Regions from separate parts of the Homo sapiens genome. Here region 2 is linked to region 1. The links are contacts of gene promoters, found by promoter capture Hi-C in blood cells and fetal thymus (Javierre and others, 2016). All regions are on one chromosome and are shown on one strand. The core of a region is centred on a gene start or on the middle of the fragment in contact, and the rest is flanking DNA. Distances in the headings are between cores, read along the strand shown.

The links. Contacts are between HindIII fragments. The CHiCAGO score rates a contact against its expected background, and 5 or more counts as called.
Region 2: a fragment that was not itself captured here is called in contact with the fragment with the promoter of SPR in region 1 in 1 of 17 cell types (fetal thymus); the score reaches 5.3 in fetal thymus.

What each region holds. Positions count from the first base shown.
Region 1 is chr2:72,885,293-72,889,259 of GRCh38, reverse strand. SPR (sepiapterin reductase) reads right to left here and starts at 1,852. Exons shown (of 3, transcript NM_003124.5): 1 at 1,524-1,852; 2 at 656-946. The coding sequence starts at 1,827. RefSeq lists silencers at 798-972, 1,611-2,000. The HindIII fragment of the contact is 9,789 bases long and covers 1-2,282 here.
Region 2 is chr2:72,768,369-72,772,335 of GRCh38, reverse strand. The region is part of intron 1 of EXOC6B (exocyst complex component 6B); the gene reads left to right. Among named protein-coding and RNA genes, the nearest start is that of EXOC6B, 56 kb to the left of the region's middle. RefSeq lists an enhancer at 1-452. The HindIII fragment of the contact is 3,917 bases long and covers 1-3,729 here.

The sequences.
Region 1 (3,967 bases), core at 603-3,102:
GTTCATGAGAGCAAGGGATCTATTCTATTTATCCCAGAATCCTCAATAGTGTTCCAGCACAGTTCAGCCAGGGATGGTCAGCACTCAACAAAGTCTGTCTGCTCTCCATACAGCTAGCATGTCCTGCAGCTTGCCTTAGTGTAGTGCTTTGCTAGGTGTTAGGAACACACATCTGCATAGTGCAAAGGCTTTCCTGTCAAGGGAGGGAAGGAGGCAAGCAAACATATGCAGACAATACAGTGTGGTCAGTCCTATTTAACAATGAGGCAACACTTCACAGGTCAGGGTCATTTTCACATACAGTATCTCATTCAGTCTTCCCAAGTGCCCTGTGAGGCAGGGAGCGTCTTCCCCATTTCACATGAGGAAGGCCTGGAACTCAAACCCCAGTCTTCTCCCAAACTCCATCTAATACCTCAGACCTTCCTGCCCCACCCTCCAGTCCAGGAAACTCCTCACTCTCTACCAGTATCCCCGGCCCCTGCCACCTCTATTTCCCCTGGGTCTGTATTTCCCCTAAGGGGTGATGGGTCAAGATTCAAGGACAAAATCCTGTGGGTTGTTTCCTGGAGGGGGCGGACTAGGCCGCTTGCCCAGCCCCCAGAGGCGCACCAGTGGGTTCTGGAGGACAGGGACGGCAGGACTTCCCACCTACCTGGGGCATAGTTCAGCACCCTCACATTAGGTTCCTCCAGCGCCAGGACCTGGAACAGCATATCACGAGCAGCCTTTCCTGCACAGTACAGCGCCCAGCCTTTGAAAGGTTGCAGGGCACAGAGGGACGAGATGTTAACCACGGTTCTGTTGAGGCCAGGACTGTCCGGGAAGGCCTTCAGGACGCTGGAAGTCAGGCAGAGCATGGAGGTCAAGTTCAGTGCCCAGTAGTTGTTCACTTGAGTGGAGTCACTCAGGTCCACGAAGCCTTTGGACACATCCCCAAGAGAGCCTGAAAAACCAACCCTTAGGAGTAACTCAGTGCAGGCGGGGCTTTCTTCTTCCCCAGCCCTCCCAAGTTCCTCCAGATATCCTCTTCCCATGCAGACCTAGAGGAGGAAGCTGCCTAGCGCTTCTGAAGAGGCTTCTCTCTTCCCCAGCTCTGCGGAAAGACACAGCTGGGGAACCTAGCCATCCCAAGCTGCAGAATGAGAAGGCACCTGCCTTGCCGTGGGGCTGAAGGAAAGCTCTAGCGGTCCTTTGGAGAAGCAGAGAGTTTACTTGTTTGGAGACTCCAAGCCCTGACTCAGGCCTCCGCCAGAGGGCGCAGAGCAAGGGGCTCGGGAAAGTTCTACAGGCGCTTTGGAAAACCCGGCTGGCCAATTTTCCAGGAAGTGGGGGCAGACTGTTGTCCCGACGGCACCGAGTCTTCCTGTACACCTCGCCTCCACTTGCTACTCAAGCTGGAACAACTAGGGCTTTAGATTTCTAGGCGTCCTATCTGACCCCTAGGAGTAGCCCTTAAATTCCCCAGCGGTGGAGGAAGTGGGCGCTCACATGGGGAGTCCGCTCCAGCCCCGGGGTCTTACCCGCGTTGTTGATAAGCAGCAGTCGCTGCAGCCCCTTGGGCCGGGGGAGCTCGCGCAGGGCGCCGAGCAGCTGCTGCAAGCCGGCCTCGGCGCCCAGGTCGGCGGGCACCCGCACCACGCGCAGGCCAGACCGCTCGGCGCCCAGCTCGGCCTCCAGCTGGCGCAGTGCCTCGTCGTTGCGGGCGCTAAGGACAAGCACGGAGCCGGGCGACAGCAGCGAGGCCAGGAGCGGGGCCAGCGTCCGGCCGAAGCCGCGGGAGGCCCCGGTCAGCAAGCACACAGCACGCCCCAGCCCGCCCTCCATGCTCCTGTTCTCCGCCGGCGGCGCTGGCACCCGAGACCAGGCAGGAGGCGGTGCGGCCGCGGGGGGCGGGACCGCTACGGGTGTCGGCGGGGCCGCCCTGCCGGGGCGGGGCGGGAACCTCAGGCTTCGGGCCGCGAGCGCCCAGGGGTGCTGGTTCCCTTGGGATCTGGTTCCCTTGGTTGCTGGTGGCGGAAGTCAAACCGTGGCGGTAGCCCAGTCCGTGCCAAGTGGGACAACAGAGAGGGCCGGCAGGCGCGGCCCACACGGAAAGCCCTAGCCCGGTTCCCAGCGCTGCCGTGTTCTTCGCCCGCAAGCTCAGCCTCCGGCTGGGACGCATGCTCGAATTTCCTCCCAGTTCCAGCCCTAACTTTGCACTACTGACCTCTTCCAGGGCAGGCCCTGCACTGGGTGCTGGGCGTCCCTGGTCGTGGCCAGTGAACACCCTGAATGAAGCTTATGCCTGTTTAGGAATTGAAGTCTCTGCTTGTTTGGGAGCTCACCGCTCTCTGGATGACAGGAGCTTCCTCTGGGAGAACCACAGTGGCTCCAAATGATATTAAAACCTTTCCCTTTTACTAGGCCCTGAGCAGCTCCGTGATCCCACCAGTAACCCCTGCTTCTCTGAGATTTCTGACTCCTGTCCCTAAAAGTGTGTTCCCCAGGATTCTGCTCCTGCTCATGCTACAGTCTCCCTGGCAGCAATTCCATCCACTTTCAGCTTCAAGTTTGCGCAATCATCTGTCTGTACCTCCAGGCAGGTGCTTCAGAAAAATCCACATTTTTTTTTTTCTAGGAGAGGAGGAACGTGAGACAAGTTGGCATGCAGCTACATATATTAAAAAGGAATCTCTTCATGGTTTCCTTCTTAGTGGCCGAGTGGTATTCCATTGTGTATATACATATGTCCAAATATTGTGTGTCAGTTTTTAAAAAACGAATCTCTTTAGAGTTTAGCAAGGGCAGTAAGTAACCTCTGATAACTTAGCCCAATTCCCCACAGGGCTGATCCCTCCCCTGGGGCTAAACAGCAAAGTTACCGCCTTTCCACTATTATTGCCAACTCTAAGGAAGAAACAACTTGGAGGAAGGCTTTTTTCTTTTCTTTTTTCTTTTTTTTGACAGAGTCTCGCTCTGTGGCCCAAACTGAAGTGCAGAGGTGTGATCACAGTTTACTGCAGCCTTGAATTCTTGGGCTCAAGCAATCCTTCCACCTCAGGCTCCTGAGTAGCTAGGATTACAGGTGCGCACCACCACGCCTGGCTAATTGTTTTTTAAGCTTTTGGTATTTTAACGCTGATAAGACTCTGTATATGTGTATACCATTTGAAGTTGCCCTGCTTTTCACTTACCTATTCACACTGAAGATAAAGATCTCATTGGCCCAACAGCTTACTATTTAAAGAATTTTAATAGCTTCTCCCTGCTCTCCAGGCCTTAGAAGACAGGTTGATGAAAGCACGATCCCATCCATCCATTCATTTGACATTTGTTAAATTTCTACCATTTGCCAGATTTTTGAAGAAAAGGAGGGAACAATGAAGGGATGGCAAAAAATCAGACCTAGACTCTTCTGAACCTAGCTGCTTCTAGGAGGAACCACTTGGGAACAGCCCCTAAGGAGAACGTGGTTTTCCTATACTAGGAGAGGGTCTGGAAAATTCTTCTTTTCTGAGGAAGATGATTATCTGCTCTCGCTAATTTTTGTGTTTTTTTATAGAGATGGCTCTTGCTGTGTTGCCCAGTGTGGTCTTGAACTGGACTCAAGCAGTTCTCCCATCTCAGCCTCCCAAAGTGCAGGGATTATAGGTGTGAGCCACCCCACCTGGCCAACAGTAACTCTTTTAAAAAGATACAAATGCCTGAAAGGTAAGAAATGTGTAAAAATTGTGTTAAAAACATAAGCCTGATAAAGGACATGGGTAGGGGAATGGGTGAAATTTGAATAAGGTCTGTAGGTTAGTTATTGGCATTGAATCATTTCCTGACTTTGACCAGTGAACTATTGTTATATCAGAGAGTGTTCTTGTTTTTGGAAGTACACAGAAGTATTTAGTAAAGGGGCATCATATCTGCAACTTACTTTCAAATGTTTCAGAAAAAAATTAGAATGAATAAGGCAAAGGTAAAATGTTAACATTTA
Region 2 (3,967 bases), core at 522-3,021, 120 kb after region 1:
TAAGCCTGGTCCTGCAGGGGCAGGCCTGGAGCCTTAGGTCACTGGCTGTCCTTGTGTTGGATTTGGCCTGGAGCTTAGGTACATGGCGGCTGGCCTGGCACCAAAATTCACTGGGGAGGCCTGGGGCTGGGGTCCCCAGTGAAGTAGGGTGCTCATATCATTCTCGTTTTCCTCCAGCGAGGGTCTCTCTTGTGAGCTTGGGGGAAGGGAATCATGGATAATGTGAAGCCGTCTTTCATACCCCCTTTAATGTATATTTTCTTATTTCTGCATTCTACCTAGGTGCTGTGATCTCTTACCTGGATTCCTTAGTTCTTTTGAATATATTTTTGTACTTGGATGTTTGTTCAAACTGATGTTTCTGTGAAGGGATGTGTGTTGGAAACTCCTATTCTGCCATCTTGCTGACATCGCTCCTCAGTTTTAATATCTAAAATAGCACATACTAATATATATATAATTCATATAAGCAAAAGCTCTTTAGGGTACTCAGTAATTTTTATTTTTCCTCTTTTCTTTCTTTTTTAGAGATATGGTCTCACCATGTTGCCCAGGCTGGGCTTGAATTCCTGGCCTGAAGCGATCCTTCCACCTTGGCCTCACAAAATGTTGAGATTACAGATGTGAGCTACCACATCCAGGCTCTCAGTAATTTTTAATAATGTAAAGTAGTCTTTTGTCCATAAATTTGGCTGCTTGTTTAGATAAAAAGAAACTGAAGAGACATGACCACAAAATGTAATTCATGATCTTAGACTGGATACTTTCCAGTAGGAAATGAAAATGCTCTAAAGAGCATTATTGGGATAATCTTCAAAATTGGAATTTGGACTGTGGGTTAGATATAATTGTATCAATGTAAATTTCTTGAATTTCATAATGGTACTATCATTATGTAAGAGAGAGGAGGTACAGACTATAGTTTTACAGGCATGATATATGAAGCCTACTTACAAATGGTTTAGAAAAATAAGCATGCATATATATGTAGGGAGAGAATGATAAAACAAATATGGCAAAAATTAGTGAACTCTGCATAAAGGCTATACAAGAGTTCTGTGCAATGTGAAATTATTTCAAAATAAAAATTACAACAATTATAAAGAATATAATGAATATCTTAGAAGCAATTTTTACAAATTAATTGGCGAGTGTTTTATTGTGCTTGTGATGAGTATGAAATGTTTTCAGCAGTTGAAGACACTTCTGGTTATGTAATAACTTTGTAGTTGTCACCACTTTTCAGAGGATACTCTTTATGCTCTGCTGCCCCCTAGTGACTTTATGCTCATCAGCAATTGTTTCTTCCAAGTGTAGTAAGTTGGAAATGAAGAGCACTATAATCATTATTTAAAAACAACTTAGTGTCAAGTCAAATAATTTTTCTGGGGGCGAGGGGGAAGACACTACCATGAAGCCATATCTAATGGCTTCCTTTTTTTCTTTGAATTTTTAAAAAATTGTATTTTTGTTCTTGTGGTTCCTTTGTATTGCATCCTCAGTTCTCTCTGTCTCTCTCTGAAGGTAATATTTACTGATTTCTCACCCAAGGGCAACAATGAAACTTAACTTGTGTACTCTTCTGTTATTCTTTCCTCTTAGCATTAAATATCAGGGAATAGTATTATCTTAGTGCTTTACTTTGTAGTCAAGCATACTTGATTTGGCCCATAATCTCTCATTTGTAATCCCCAAATCCTAAAGGCTCTAAAAACTATTTGTTGTCAAAATCTGCCTTAATTCATTTGGCAAGAAAACCTGATGTGAATTGACTTAATATATTAATAATCTTTATATTTACCACTTTTGTGAATATTCCTATATTTTACTGCTGAAATATGAATGTGTTTGATTATGGAATGCTTAAGATCTTACTGGGATGTTACATAATATGTGACAGATGAGCTGTATTTTTTTTAAATGTACAGAATTTGGTATTATGAAACATTTTGCTACAAGGATTTTCGATTAGGGATTGTAGACCTGTAGTTGATTTGCCTAGCTTTGGCTCACAGTTACTGGTATAAGATAGTTGACTAGTTTATTCTACTTTCTATCTTCTCTCTTTTTTTTCTTAGTTGTATAATTTTTATGTACTATTTTTATGTATCATACTTGATCACTTTTAATCTGACCTTGTTTTTGTCTTAGAGTTGCAGTTAAATATATTCAGTCTTCATTGACATTCTTTTTTATTGAAGTTTTCCCTGTCATCTAGTTGGGTTTGTGTTCCTCCTCTAGTAGTTGCCTTAAGAAGGACTTATGTGAACAACAATTTTTGAGTTATTGTATATTCAAATTTTAGCTCTATAGACTTTATATTTAAAGGCTAGCTTGGTTGAAATTAAAGTTCTTGGCTCATGTTTTGTTTCCTTGAGTATCTTGTCTTCTGGTGTTCAATGTTGCTGTGGAGAAGTCTGATACTTGCTGGTTTTTCTTTTTCCCTAAGTGCTTATTCTTGATTCTTATTATTTTTGGCTGTCTATTGACTCTTCTTCTTTCTATTTTATTTTATTTTATTTTTGAGATGGAGTCTTGCTCTGTCGCCCAGGCTGGAGTGCAGTGGCACGATCTCGGCTCACTGCAACCTCCACCTCCTGAGTTCAAGCAATTCTCCTGTCTCAGCCTCTCGAGTAGCTGGGATTACAGGCACGTGTCACCACACCCGGCTAATTTTTGTATTTTTAGTAGAGACAGAGTTTTGCCATGTTGGCCAGGCTGGTCTCGAATTCCTGACCTCAGGTGATCTGCCCGCCTTGGCCTCCCAAAGTGCTGGGATTACAGGTGTGAGCCACTGGGCCTGGCCCTTCCTTTTTTAGTTATTAGACATTACTCAAAGAATTTCAGCATGTATCCTTGACTCAGAGTATAATATAAATTAATATTTTTATCACTTCCTTGACACTGCTAGGAATATGTAACACTTTTTCATTTATCCTTTCCTACATCTTACACTGTTGTCATGAATTTTAATTTTACATGTAATTTTGTTCCCACACAACATTATCCTTATTATTTCGTAGAGTCACCATTCATGTATGTTTACTCTTTTGTTTGATTCTTCATTTCCTCCTCCATCTCTGTGCTTCATTCTGAGGTCACTTTTCCTTTTGTATGCAGAACTCCCTTTAGCATTTCTTTTAGTGAAGGACTCATTTATTTTGTTTGTATGAATAATGTCTGTATTTCACCTTATTTTAAAATTGCAGTAAAATATACATAACATATACTTTACCATTTTAACCATTTTTAAGTGTACAGTTCAGTGGCATTAAGTATATTCACATTTTTCTGTAGCCAAAACTGCCACCTATCTCCAGAACTTGTCTAATCCCAAGTAGCTGGGACTATAGGCACATGCCACTGTGCCTGGCTAATTTTTTTTTGTAGAGACAGGGTTTAGCTTTGTTGCCCAGGCTGGTCTTGACCTCCTGGCTTCAAGCAATATTCTTGCCTCAGCCTCCTAAGGTGCTGGGATTACAGGTGTGAACTACCACGGCTGGCCAAGTATAGTTTTCTTTACATTCATCATGCTTTGGGTTTATAGGGCTTGAAACTATGGACTGATATCTTTCATAAGTTTTTAGATATACTTGGCTATGATGTCTTTAAGTATTGCTTCTGCACAATTATACAATGATAAAATTTCTTTCAGGAGAGTTACAGATTTAAAAATATTTTCATAATATCAGTTAGATGTTATTTACTTAAAAAAAAAAAAAAAAAGCTTAGGCCGGGCACAGTGTCTCACGCCTCTAATCCCAGCACTTTGGGAGGCCAAGGCGGGGGGATCACCTGAGGTCTGGAGTTTGAGACCAGCCTGACCAACATGGAGAAACAAAATACAAAATTAGCCGGGGAGAAAGAAAATACAAAATTAGCCGGGGGTGGTAGCGCATGCCTGTAATCCCAGCTACTCGGGAGGCTGCGGCAAGAGAATGGCTTGAACCCGGTAGGCGGAGGTTGC